Linked DNA regions of Homo sapiens: all the other regions are linked to region 3. Evidence: promoter capture Hi-C in 16 types of primary human blood cells and fetal thymus (Javierre and others, 2016). All regions are on one chromosome and are shown on one strand. The core of a region is centred on a gene start or on the middle of the fragment in contact, and the rest is flanking DNA. Distances in the headings are between cores, read along the strand shown.

Region 1 (4,373 bases), core at 1,430-3,929, 2.9 Mb before region 3:
TTACCACTTGAAGTGAAATGCACCAAGTTTCATTCCACTTAGGCCCCTTTACTCTCCCCACTTTTAAAATATAATTGTCTTAAGTGTTCCCACTACATACAGAGCATTTTGCTCCAACCATCAAAAATGATTCTAGAAACTCATGAGAAAAATATATTTATCCCTATTTTTGCCAACCTCCAATCTTCTTTCTTGCCTGCATTCCAAGCCTTCTTGTGTTATTTCCATTCTATTTAGAGAACTTCTAGCCAATTTTTAAAGGTAGGTTTGCTAGCAACATTTTCTCTTAGCTTCCCTGTCTAATAATGCCTTTAGTTCCCCTTTATTCATGAAGATAGTTTCAAAAGATACAGATTTTTATTTGATAGTGCTTTCCTCTCAGTACTTGAGAAAACATACTACTTCCTTCCTGCTGCCGCAGTTTCAGAAGAGAAACCCACAGTCATTCTCTGTAGGGAATGTGTTGTTTCTCTCTGGCTACTTTGAAAATTTTATTATAAATCATGCTGCTATAAAGACACATGCACACGTATGTTTATAGCGGCACTATTCACAATAGCAAAGACTTGGAACCAACCCAAATGTCCAACAACAATAGACTGGATTAAGAAAATATGGCACATATATACCATGGAATACTATGCAGCCATAAAAAATGATGAGTTCATGTCCTTTGTAGGGACATGGATGAAACTGGAAACCATCATTCTCAGCAAACTATCGCAAAGCCAAAAAACCAAACACTGCATGTTCTCACTCACAGGTGAGAATTGAACAATGAGAACACATGGACACAGGAAGGGGAACATCACACACTGGGGACTGTTACGGGGTGGGGGGAGTGGGGAGGGATAGCATTAGGAGATATACCTAATGCTAAATGACGAGTTAATTGGTGCAGCACACCAACATGGCACATGTATACATATGTAACAAACCTGCACCTTGTACACATGTACCCTAAAACTTAAAGTATAATAATAATAAAATAAAATAAAATAAAATTATCACAAGCTCAAATTAAAAAAAAAAAGAAAATTTTTGTCTTTGGTTTTCAAAAATTTAATTACAGTGTGAGTTTGCCATGGACTTATTTGATGTTACTTCAGACTCGGGAATGTGTAGTTTTATATCTTTTCGCTAAATTTGAGAAGGTCCAGCCATTACTTCTTCAAATACTTTAAACACCTCTTTCCCCTCCTTCTGATGTTACAAATGTTAGTTCTTTTGTTATTGCCCCACTTTCCAAATACTGAGAGAACCAAACTACATCCCATTCCCTCCTGCCTTCCGGCTCTGTCTAAGCTACCACAATCACTCATAAGGAAAACTACCAAGGCCTTTAATGAGCTCTCTATGCCCTATGCCATGCCCAATATTTTCTCTACAGAGGTGAGAAAGATCTTATAGAAATATAAATCAGATGTTGCTCATCTGCTGAAAATCTACCACTAAATTAAAAATAAAATTAACTGAATAAGGCTTATGATGGGCTCACCTTTGGACTCTAGCTGTCTCCCTCACCTCACCTCCTGCCCTTCCTCCAATCAACCCCTCCCTTCAGCCACTGTGACTTTTTGGTTATTCCTGAAACCCACCAACCACATTCCTGCCCAAGGCTAGCAGCTGCTATTACCCCTGCTGAAAAGGGTCAGAATCCTCATGGCTCACACAGTCATTTCATTCAAATCTCTGCTCTAATGTTGACCTCATTAAGGTTTCCCCTGACTGTTCTTTAAAGTACCACATTCAGCCAATCTAACTTGCTTTAATTTCTTTCATAGTCTTTAAAACCACAGAACATTTAATATACATATACATATAGGTATACATAATATACTTAGAGGCATAATTTATTTTTTTATATTTATTTACTTATTTTTGAGACAAAGTCTCACTCTGTTGCTCAGGCTGGAGTGCAGTGGCACAGTCTCAGCTCACTGCAACCTCTGCCTCCTGGGTTCAAGTGATTCTCCTGCCTCAGCCTCCCAGTTAGCTGGGATTACAGGCACCTGCCACCACACCCAGCTAATTTAGTATTTTTAGTACAGACGGGGTTTCACCATGTTGGCCAGGCTGTTGTGGAACTCCTGACCTCAAGTGATCTGCCTGCCTCGACCTGTGCTGGGATTACAGGTGTGAGCTACCACACCCAGCCTAATGTTTTTCATCATTATATCCTCAGCACACAGCAAGTATGCAAACATTATTTGCTGAGTTTAAAAATGAGTGTATAAAAAATTCTGACAACAGAATAAACACAAAACAAGGGAGGCAAGGTAGGACACTGAAAGTGCTTGGAGAAAAATGATAACCAAGAAAAACAACAGTAAAGTTGAGGTGGGCAAAGACTGAACTATTGGCAGGTGTAAGAATAGTAAACATTCAAAAAACGATTCAAAAAGGAGGAATTTTTTGTGAGTAGTATCTGGAAGTTTGATTTAGGAATCAATATTCTCCATCACTTCCAGAGGTTAGGATCCCTATGGAGATGTTCTTGAAAAATCTTCCAAAGTTGCCAAACCCTGAATTAACTACTGGGAAACAACAAATCCCCTGATGTGAATCTGTGCAGTACATATTAACTCACCTGGAAAGCTTTGGCTTGGGAATTCTTCCTCCTGTTTCCATGGCTCTTCTCCTTGTTGCAGCCTGAAGATCACCTCTGGTTTGTGAACACAATACCCTGTTAACAGGAAATAATTTAGGATTTGGACCAAGCAGTCTAGACTTCAGGCCTTTGAAGCAGGAAGAAGCTTCTGGGGCTGCTTCGAGTTGCCAGTGGAACATTTTCACTGGAGAGGTGAACACAAGTATCTTCTGGTACTCAGAGGTGATCAATCAACACTGACTCCTGAAGCCTAACCTTAAATATCATTAAACTATACAGACTGCCCATACGCTTCATAATCAAAAGAATAAACAAATGCTATTTAGAATGATACAGTGAACAGACCTTACCCACTGAGACAAGGTTGCTGTAGTTCTCCAGCATCACATCTCTATACAGAGCCCTCTGACTAGGGTCCAGGTGCTGCCACTCCTCCTGGGTGAAGCCCACAGTCACATCTTTAAATGATACTGACTCCTGGGACTTCTGTTCTACCTGAAACATTCAGAATTAGGTGGCATGAAAAAAGAAGTATGGGCTAATCCTTACCATGATTATTATTCACAGAATATTGTTTTGTTTTATACTTTTAGGGAAAAAGAAATCATAACAGAAATATTCTGCCATTAATGCATTAAGATATTAATTCATGCAAAAGAAATTATCAAGTTCCTACAAAGTACCTGGAACTATCATCACTGCTGGAAATACTAAGATTAATAAAAATCTTCCTGTGTTCAAAGAACACACAGAGTGGTAAGAAAATATGTGTGGTAATATGTTACAAGTACTAAGGTGAAAGTACAAACACAGTAGACTAACATTAGGAGCAAAGTTGGCTCTGTTTTGAGCTTAACTGAGGAAGTACAGCTGTTGGTTGAATTATGAAAAACACTCTATTACGTTCTTCATAAGCATAGGGCCATGATACAAGCAAAGGTGAGGGCCTCCAACACACTGCAGACATCAACAAAATGGCAGACAGCACAGGAGATGGCCTGGTGCTGTCTTGAGAAAAAAAGCCAAGGAAATGGGTTATAGAGTAATTTTAGACCAATGGTCTCCAAAGTATTTGATCATTTACCATTTTCAAGAATATTACTGAGAACTACAGATTTATATTTACAAATCACAGAAATAAATTGTCAGTACATTCATTATGAATTCTAATTTAACTCTCATTTGGATTTAAAAATGTAGAAAAAGAGCCTGACATTTTCTTCATCGCAATACATATTCTGGGTTCTAATCCTTTAATTCAGAGACAATAATAAGGATGTGTAGAAAATGGAAAGATTTTGGAACCATTATATTTGAAACCTCTGTGGAGTACAGCGGAGAAGACATCCAATTGGATTGTTCTGGATATCCTCTAGGGCACATCTTTTAGGGATCACTGCTGTGAAAATGGGAGAGCCAAAGATGAGATATGAGCATATACTGAAATTACAGGACCAGGTTTCGTTTACAGAACCAATTCTACTGAGAACGACAAAGGACAAAACAACATTTACATAAACTACTGTAGAAGAAACCAGGATGCAAATAGGGCACGGATAATAGGAGGCAAGAACAACAAAATGTGGTCACCAATTCATTAAGAAAAAAAATGTTTCCTCTGGCTATCTCCATGCACAGCTGCCCAGATACTAGGGCCACAATGTAAACCAGGAAAGTTAGGGCTATATAGGTTGGACACAGTATTCTAGTAAGAAACATCCTAATTATATTAAATTTGAAGCATAGGCTTGGCATGGTGGCT
Region 2 (4,784 bases), core at 1,289-3,788, 2.9 Mb before region 3:
GGGTGCAGTTAATTGATAGTGTTGGGTCTTGCTTTTAACATTTGTAGTGTTTATTCTAGGGCTAATTATTCTTTGTTGCTGAGACAAGATCATTCTGAGTACTCTACCCCAGTGCTCATGAATTATGATTTTCTCATCCTGGCTGGTGACAGCAGGTACTTTTTCCAGCATCACTGGGCTCTATTCTCTTCAATCTTTTTGGATGATTCCCCAGTCTCAGGTGATATCCTCATACGCATGTTCCAGACAGCACTCTGCTGAGTTTTCAAGGGGACCTTCTGAAGATCACCAGAGCTGTCTCTCTCTGTGCAGCTCTCTTCCTTGGTAATTTGTCCTACAAACTCTAGCTGCCTTGGTGTCTCTGGACTCTCAGCTGCGTCTCCTCAATTCAAGGAGTCTATGACGCTCAGCCTGGGATCCCCCTCCTTGTGCCACAGCCTGGAAACTCTTTTAAGGCAGTAAGCTGTGGCAAATGTAGAGCTTACTTATTTCATGTTTCATGGGTCACTGTGCTCATTGCCTGATATCCAGTGACTTGAAAACATTGTTTCATATATTTTATCTGGTTTCTTCAGTTGTTTTAGGCAGGAGGGTAAATCCAGTCCTTGTTACTCCACCTTGGCCAGAAACGGTTTTTGTTTTGGTTTGTTTGTTTGTTTAGACAGAGTCTCCCTCTATTGCCCAGACTGGCGTGAAGTGGCGTGATCTCGGCTCATTGCAACCTCTGCCTCCTGGGTTCAAGTGATTCTTCCAACTCAGGAGACACGGGCCACCACACCTGTGTTGTGGGAAGTCAGGGACCCTGAACAGAGGGACCGGCTGGAGCCGTGGCAGAGGAACATAAATTGTGAAGATTTCATAGACATTTACCAGTTCCCAAATAATACTTTCATAATTTCTTTCTCCTGTCTTACTTTAATCTCTTAATCCTATTATCTTCGTAAACTGAGGATGTATGTCACCTCAGGACCACTATTGTGTTAACTGTACAAATTGAATGTAAAACATGTGTGTTTGAACAATATGAAATCATTGCACCTTGAAAAAGAATAGAATAACAGCGATTTTCAGGGAACAAGGGAAGACAACTATAAGGTCTGACTGCCTGCGGGGTTGGGCAAAATAGAGCCATATTTTTCTTCTTGCAGAGAGCCTATAAATGGAGGTGCAAGTAGGGAAGATATCGCTAAATTCTTTTCCTAGCAAGGATTAATACTCTGGGAAAGGAATGCATTCCTGTGGGGAGGTCTATAAACGGCTTCTTTGGGAGTGTCTGTCTTTTTTTTTTTTTTTTTTTTTTTTTTTGAGACGGAGTCTCACTCTGTCGCCCAGGTCGGACTGCGGACTGCAGTGGCGCAATCTCGGCTCACTGCAAGCTCCGCTTCCCGGGTTCACGCCATTCTCCTGCCTCAGCCTCCCGAGGGGAGTGTCTGTCTTACATGGTTGAGATAAGGACTGAAATATGCCCTGGTCTCCTGCAGTACCCTCAGGCTTACTAGGGTGGGGAAAAACCCTGCCCCACTAAATTTGAGGTCAGCCTGGTTCTCTGCTCTCAAACCCTGTTTTCTGTTGTTTAAGATGTTTATAAAGACAATACGTGCACCACTGAACATAGACCCTTATCAGTAATTCTGCTTTTGCCCTTTGCCTTGTGATCTTGTTTTTGCCCTTTGCTTTGTGATCTTTGCCTTTGCCCTTTGTCTTGTGATCTTTGTTAGACCCTTATTAGGAGTTTCTGATTTTTCCCTTAGAAGCATGTGATCTTTGTGACCTACTCCCTGTTCTTGCACCCCCTCCCCTTTTGAAATCCTTAATAAAACTTGCTGGCTTTAAGGCTCAGGTGGGCATCACGGTCCTACCGATGTGATGTCACCCCCAGAGGCCCAGCTGTAAAATTCCTCTCTTTGTACTCTTTCTCTTTATTTTTCTCAGCCGGCTGACACTTATGGAAAATAGAAAGAACCTATGTTGAAATATTGGGGGCAGGTTCCCCTGATATGCCCAGATAGTTTTTGTATCTATTGTAGAGATGGGGTTTCACTATGTTGGCCAGGCTGGTCTCAAACTCCTGACCTCAAGTGATCCACCCGCCTCGGCCTCCCAAAGTACTGGGATTACAGGCATGAGTCATCACACCCAGCCCAGAAACAGTTTTTGAATTGGATCTTGAATCAGAAAAACAATTATCTATAAAAGTCTTAATTGAAGGCTGGGCGTAGTGGCTCATGCCTGTAATCTCAGCACTTTAGGAGGATGAGATGGGGAGATCACGAGGTAAAGAGATCGAGATCATCCTGGATAACATGGTGAAAATCCATCTCTACTTAAAAAAAAAAATACAAAATTTACCCGGGCATGGTGGTGCATGCCTGTAGTCCCAGCTACTCAGGAGGCTGATGCAGGACAATCACTTGAACCTGAGAAGGGGAGATTGTAGTGAGCCGAGATTGTGCCACAGCACTGCAGCCTGGGTGACAGAGTAAGACTCCATCTCAAGAAAAAAAAAAAAAAGACTTAATTGAGACAATCAGTGAAATTTGAACATGGACTGTACATTATAGATTAGATATTATATCTTTGTTAAATTTTTCTGATTTTGAGCACTGTACCATGGTTATCTGAGAATTTTATCCTTGCTGATAGAAAATATACAGCTAAGAACTTAGGAGTAAAGTGGAATGATTCCTACAACTGACTCTCAAATGATTAAGAAAAATAAATACATAATATACACAAATAGCAAAAATTATGAAGCAAATGTGCCAAAATATTAATGATGGAATTATCTTGGTGAAGGATATATGATAATTCAATTTTTTTTTTTCTGAGATGGAGTTTCAGTCTGTCACCCAGGCTGGGGTACAATGGCATGATCTTGGCTCACTGTAACCTCCGCCTCCCAGGTTCAAGCAATTCTCCTGCCTCAGCCTCCTGAGTAGCTGAGCTTACAGGTGTGCACCACTACACCCAGCTAATTTTTATATTTTTAGTAGAGATGGGGTTTCACTATGTTCTCAAACTCCTGACATCGTGATCCATCTGCCTCAGCCTCTCAAAATGCTGGGATTACAGGCAGGAGCAACCATGCCTGGCCTATAGGAGAATTCTTTATCCTACTTTTGCAATTTATTTATAAGTTAAAGATTACTTCAGGCCAGGTGCAGTGGCTCACGTCTGTAATCCCAGCACTTTGGGAGGTGGAGGTGGACAGATCACCTGAAGTCAGGATTTCAAGACCAGCCTGCCAACATGGTGAAACCCCAACTCTACTAAAAATAGAAAAAAATAGCCGGGTATGGTGGCAAACACCTGTAATCCCAGCTACTTGGGAGGCTGATGCACAAGAATAGCTTGAACCTGGGAGATGGAAGTTGCAGTAAGCCGAGATTGCACCACTGCACTCCGGCCTGGGTGATAGAGTGAGACTCTATCTAAAAAAAAAATTAAAAATAAGATTACCTCAAAATAAATGAGTAAAAGAAATTGCAATAATAAATTGCAAAACTGGTCTTTATTGTTAGAAGTGAGGATGGGGGCTGGGTGCAGTGGCTCACGCCTGTAATCTCAGCATTTTCCAAGGCCGAGGTGGGTGGATCATCTGAGGTCAGGAGTTCCAGACCAGCCTGGCCAACATGGTGAAACCCTGTCTCTACTAAAAATGCAGAAAATTAGCCAAGCATGGTGGCACATGCCTGTAATCCCAGCTACTCAGGAGGCTGAAGCAGGAGAATCACTTGAACCAAGGAGGCAGAGGTTGCAGTGAGCTGAGATCGTGCCATTGCACTCCAGTCTGGGCAACAAGAGAGAAACTCCATCTCAAAAAAAAAAAAAAAAAACCAGAAATCAAGATGGGGCTACTTTTGAGAGGGAGAGAAATGACCAATAAAGAATGGGTCATTCAAGGAGACTTCAGGCACTGGTAATATTGTCTTTGAACTCCTTGGTGTTTACATGTTTGTGTTTACCTCTCTTCATCATTCACTTATCAATTATACAGTGATACACATGCCATTGCATACTTTTATATTTTTTATACTTCAATAAAAACATTTTTAAGTAAAATTAAACTATTCAGATATAACACCTTGAGGATTGCTTTCTTTCTGTGTCTTCTTTCCTGAATCCCTAGTGAAGTCCTCAGGTCAGGGTGATAGTCTCCTAGGTGGTTCTCTTCTTCATTTCAAAAGAACAGTTTTATTCCTTATGCTGTGGAGAAACCAAATGTAAAAATTCACCTTGTGTGAACCCTTCACCAGTGACTTCAAATTGCTACTTCTCTTGGAACTTACTAACTTCTAAAAATTAAGAGTGGACTTTCAGTAAATTTGAAATGAAACTTTTAACATATGGCACACCAAATATCCATGACACCAAATTCCAGGAGCCCCACAGGGATAGTTTATAGCCACCCTTAGGAGAGAGAGACCTCAAGACCAAATTAGAAAGAAAAGAAAAAAAGGTATATATATATGTCCACACTGTTTTGTTTTCAATGAAAATTTTAACATATACTAAATTCTCATGTATATTTGGATCTTCTGTGCTTTTTCGAAACTAGCATCAAACTTAAATTACTTTTTATTTCATTGATTTATTTTTTGAGACACAGACTCACTGTGTTGCCAGGCTGGATTTCAGTGGCACGATCTTGGCCCACTGTAACCTCTGCCTCCCAGGTTCAAGTGATTCTCCTGCCTCAGCCTCCCGAGTAGCTGGGACTGCAGGCATGCACCACCATGCCCAGCTAATTTTTGTATTTTTAGTAGAGACAGGGTTTCACCATG
Region 3 (4,921 bases), core at 1,992-4,491:
GTTCAAGTGATTCTCCCACCTCAGCCTCCCAAGAAGCTGTGACTACCAGCACACACCACCATGCCTGGCTAAATTTTGTATTTTTTGTAGAGATGGGGTTTTGCTATATTGTCCAGGCTGATCTCAAATTCCTACACTCAAGAGATCTGCCCACCTCAGCCTCCCAAAGTGCTGGGAGGCATGAGCCACCAAGTCTGTCAATTGTTCTTTCAAGTAAAAATGGCCTTCCATTGTAATGGCCAGATGGGTTCTTCTTGGCTACTGCACAGACAAAATTCACCGAGACCAAGGTATTGCAGTAGAGAAAGTGTTTAATTGACCCAAGGCCAGTCACATAGGAGAACTGGAGTTATCACTCAAATCAGTCTCCCCCTGGGTTGGAGGTTGGGGTTTTTATGGACAATTTGGTGAGCAGGGGACTAGAGAATGGGTTCTGCTGATGGGTTGGGGATGGAATCATAGGGGTGTGGAAAACAGTCCTTGAGTGCTGAGCCTGCCTCTGGGTGGGGCCATAGGACCAGTTCTGAGTCATGAGTCACGAGTCCAGGTGGGGTCAGTCTGAAAAATATCTCAAAAAGCAATCTAAAGTTGTACAATACTGATGTTATTTATAGGAGCAACTGGGGAAGTCACAAATCTTGTGACCTCTGGCCACATGACCCCTGAGCAGTAAGGGAGTATATTAATAGAAATATGCCTACACTTTAGCAAAGTTCACACCCCTCCCATAATCCTATTCTTGCTGCTTTTCATTAGTCTTCCAAAGGTGGTTTTTCATCCCTAAGCAAGAGCAGGGGTAGTTTTAGGGAGGAACTTAGCTTTCAAGTTAAACCATAAACTAACTTCCTCCCCAAATTAAGTTGGCCTATGCCCAGGAATGACCAGGAACACCTTGGAGGTCAGAAGCAAGATTAAATCAATGAGGTCAGATTCCTCTTACTATCATGTTTTGCAAAGGCAGTTTCACCATGAAAAATGCAGGTAGTTCAGCCTGTAAGTCAACCACACAAGTGCTTTTCTTCAAGACAGCCATCCCACTTTGGCATGCAGAAGTGCATGTGTACTTCCCATTTCTTCACACAGAGTATTAGAAAGACTTGTATTCAAGGGCCAAAATTTAATAAAATTAATGCTTCCGCTTCATCCAGGATATTCCTAAATCAATAGCCTTAAAAACTGGGAATGTATGGCAGTGAAGAATACAGCGATCCAATGACCACCCGGACAGGTTGGTGGCACTGTCTTGATCCCTGCTAAGGCATCAATAGTGTCCGTATTCCTTTGCACCATCAGTACAAAAACAAACTCAGTCAAAAAGACAGAGGAGGCCAGGCATGGTGGCTCACTCCTGTAATCCCAGAACTTTTGGGAGGCTGAGGTGGGCAGATCGCTTGAGCTCAGGAGTTCCAGAGGAGCCTGGGCAACATAGTGAGACCCCATGTCTACCAAAAATACAAAAATTAGCTGGGTGTGGTGGCGCACGCGCCTGTAGTCACAGCTGCTTCGGAAACTGAGATGGTACACTCGCTTGAGCCCAGGAGTTTGAGGCCGCAGTGAGCTATGATCAGGCCACTGCACTCCTGCACTCCAGCCTCAGCGACAGAGGGAGACCCTGTGTCAAAAACAAAAACAAAACAAAACAAAAAGCAGGGGGGGCCTGACACGGTGGCTCAGGCCTGTAATCCTAGCACTTTGGGAGGCTGAGGTGGGTGGATTGCCTGAGCTCAGGAGTTCAAGACCAGCCTGGGCAATGTGGTGACATGGTGAAACCCTGTCTCTACAAAATACAAAAAATTAGCCGGGTGTGGTGGCGGGCTTCTGTAATACCAGCTACTCGGGAAGCTGAGACAGGAGAATCACTTGAACCCGGGAGGTGCAGGTTGCAGTGAGCTGAGATTGTGCCGCCACTGCATTCCAGCCTGGGTGACAGAGCAAGACTCTGTATCCAAAAAAAAAAAGGACCAGACATATTGCATTGTTAACAAACTAGTTGTTAACCTTATGACCTCTGTAAAGGTCTCAGGGATTTCCAGAGGTCTGGGGACCACACTTTGAGAATCACTAGATTAAAAGGGGGAAAACATGGGAGGAAAAAAAGGTCACATAATGGAAACATACTGTTGGATTGAATTTCGTATATAAAAACCCTTTACTGAAATAAAGAGTAGAGACTTCAAGTACCAAGAGAAGCAGATTAGAAGAGGAGGAAGGCTCTAGGGACTGATCAGGTCTGGAGGCAGGGTTTTAAATGGGCCTTGAAGGGTTCGTGCAGTTTGGAAGGAAGGGATGGGAGGGAAAAGCTTGCTGAATCGTATAAATGAACAAGACCCTGATGGTGAGCTCTTGAGGATATGAAAGGCAAAAAGCACTAAGGCCGGGCTTTTGTTCCTCTGTGGCCCTGCATATATGAGGAGGTGATGAGTAATTCTATATTTTTATCAGCTTTACCGTTTAAAACTCCAAGGGAGGAAAACCCTTCAAACTGATAGGCTTGGGGCTTGGTGAAGGTGGGGTATTAGTGAAAAAGATGTGAAGTTTCTTTATCGAAAATACATGTATGTCCAAGAAATTCTCTGTAGATAAAAACTAACAAGAAAAAGAGTTTGTCAGAGAGGAAAAGTAGTTTTGCTAATTTATTTTTGATCATTTGCAAAGCCCATGGAAGTGTGTGGCAAGAGGATTGTGGTGTCTTAGGATATTCACATAGGTCTGAAACAAGGAAAACATACTTCTGTTGAAAGCACCATTCCAACATATTGTTATTAGCAGTCCCTGAACTAACGGGTAGTGGGTGGGTACTGTGTCCATCAGCTCAGCGAACCGCAATTGCCTCATTGACAGCAAGCCCAGCAAGGAATCACTTGGAATATTAATTTCCGTGGCCTTTCGCAATCACACGAAGCTTGGCTCCCTGCGCTTGCCGTAACGCGGCCTGTACCATTGCTTTCCGGGTGGCGGGGGGGATTTGGCAGCAGCGGAAGAAGGAGACCGGAGGGTGTGTGTTGGGCAAAGCCGGAGGCAGAGGAGGACGATTGTTTTACGGATCCCGTGATCGGCCCGTCCTTCTCCCCTTTCCCCCCCTCCCTACCGCCCCTGTCCCGCCGGGGAGCGGCGGCGGCCTTGGACTTTGCTGTCTTTCCTCGCGGAGACAGGTGAGTGTCGGCGCGCGGGCTCCCCGGGCTTCGCTCCCCACCCCCCGCGTCTCCGGGGCCGGTGGCGGCGGCCGGCCGGGGAGGCGGCCTCGGCGCACAGTAATGGCAGCGCTGTGAGCAGGGGAACGCGAGCTGACAGCCGCCGCCGCCGCCGCCTCCGCCCACCTTCCTCGCCGGGGCTTCGTCTTTCACTCCTTCGGGCTGCCTCCCCCTCCCCTTGTCCCCTGCCCCTTGCCCTGCTTCTGCAGAAGGTAACCCCGCTGAGGGTCGGGGAGCCGGGCTGCAGGCGCCGGGAAACTTCCCTTCCCGGTTAATGGGTGGCGGGGCTGGGGCGGAGGAGAGGAGTTGGGGGCGACGAGGTGTGGGGAGAGGGATGAAAGGGGGAGGCCCGGGAAGATGGTATCCTGTAAGTGACCTCGGCTCCCCAGAGCGCTGACCCGTAAGCCCTGCCACCCCCTGGACTGGATCCCGGGCCTCCCCAACCCGATCTTGGCCGCCTCTCCCGCGGCCCCATTTTCCTTCGAAGGAGGGAAGGTGAGAGTGCGTGTATTCTTCTACATATTTACGTGCTCACACGAATACACAACTCTGTGTGTTTGTGTGTGTGTGTGGGGGGGGGCATCTCATGCATCCTTACCCCGAGTGTTTTCACTTTTGTTTCCGCAGACTGCAAAGATTGATAGCTTTGGGGAGGAGTATCCTACGTGCATGCTAGACTTCTTGTCTCAACCCTTAGGGTCTGGTGAAATAAGATCCTCACACGCTTTCTAGCACTTGCTTACCCTCTAGAGAGTCTGGACCATTCCCTACCATTACGTGCATGCAAATAAAACATCTGTGAATTGCAGACTGTTATTAATGTTAAGTCCACATCTTTGCCCCATGGATTAATATTAACAGTTGAAGGCCAGTACCCTGGGCGTTTAAATTTTGAAGATAAGATGCAAAATATTAACGTTCGCTATAGATTGTGACTGTTCAACATAAACGTCTTTGAACTAGACCTGGCCAAGCCTACCTTCGTAGTAAAGTATCGGAAATAATCACTTTGATCTGATTGACAACTGACTACATAATAATCGCTTAAAAACATTCAAAACACTGTTGCCTACCCTTTAGAATCTTACATTCCTTTTCAAGACAGACACATGAACAAATGAGCTATACTTTGCTTCTTTTGCCCTTATACAGTATCTGGAAGATCCTTCCAAAAGAGTCGCGTGAGATAAGAGAAGTACACAGTTTTTTTGTTTTGAGATGGAGTTTTGCTCTTGTCACCCAGGCTGGAGTGCAGTGGTGCGATCTCGGCTCACTGCAACCTCCGCCTCCCGGGTTCAAGCAATTCTTCTGCCTTAGCCTTCCATGTAGCTGGGATTACTGGCATGCGCCACCATGCCCGGCTAATTTTGTATTTTTAGTGGAGATGGGGTTTCACCATGTTGGCCAGGCTGGTCTTGAACTCCTGACCTCAGGTGATTCGCCTGCTTAGGCCTCCCAAAGTGCTGGGATTACAGGCCTGAGCTACTGCGCCCAGCCCACAGTGTTTTGAATTACTTGTTTTTTTCAATTGCTGTTTATGAGTTGGGGGAACATTTCTACAATGTGCATGCACATAGCGTGGGAAAAATTCCTTTTCAATTGCTTTTTGAGTATTTGGATGTTCTCCTGCATCTGAAATACTCTTCATTCTCCATCCTTGCTGGTGGCTTTCAGTGTTCTATAAATGTGAAGATTATCCATGTCTTTTACCCTCACCAGTTTGTCACTAG

Evidence for each region. The method cuts DNA at HindIII sites, captures the fragments that hold promoters and counts their contacts. A CHiCAGO score of 5 or more calls a contact.
Region 1: a fragment that was not itself captured here is called in contact with the fragment with the promoter of CUL2 in region 3 in 5 of 17 cell types (total CD8 T cells, total CD4 T cells, naive CD8 T cells and 2 more); the score reaches 16.4 in total CD8 T cells.
Region 2: a fragment that was not itself captured here is called in contact with the fragment with the promoter of CUL2 in region 3 in 7 of 17 cell types (total B cells, naive CD4 T cells, naive CD8 T cells and 4 more); the score reaches 14.5 in total B cells.

The regions. Positions count from the first base shown.
Region 1 is chr10:38,015,604-38,019,976 of GRCh38, reverse strand. It overlaps ZNF33A (zinc finger protein 33A), which reads right to left. Exons shown (of 5, transcript NM_006954.2): 3 at 2,962-3,106; 4 at 2,591-2,686. Among named protein-coding and RNA genes, the nearest start is that of ZNF33A, 7.1 kb to the right of the region's middle. The HindIII fragment of the contact is 158 bases long and covers 2,601-2,758 here.
Region 2 is chr10:37,979,711-37,984,494 of GRCh38, reverse strand. ZNF25-DT (ZNF25 divergent transcript) reads right to left here. Exons shown (of 6, transcript XR_930830.4): 2 at 4,085-4,206. Among named protein-coding and RNA genes, the nearest start is that of ZNF25-DT, 5.3 kb to the right of the region's middle. The HindIII fragment of the contact is 7,521 bases long and covers 1-4,784 here.
Region 3 is chr10:35,088,661-35,093,581 of GRCh38, reverse strand. CUL2 (cullin 2) reads left to right here and starts at 3,241. Exons shown (of 21, transcript NM_003591.4): 1 at 3,241-3,403. RefSeq lists an enhancer at 2,821-2,960 and silencers at 2,879-3,067, 3,121-3,320, 3,341-3,470. The HindIII fragment of the contact is 6,346 bases long and covers 2,905-4,921 here.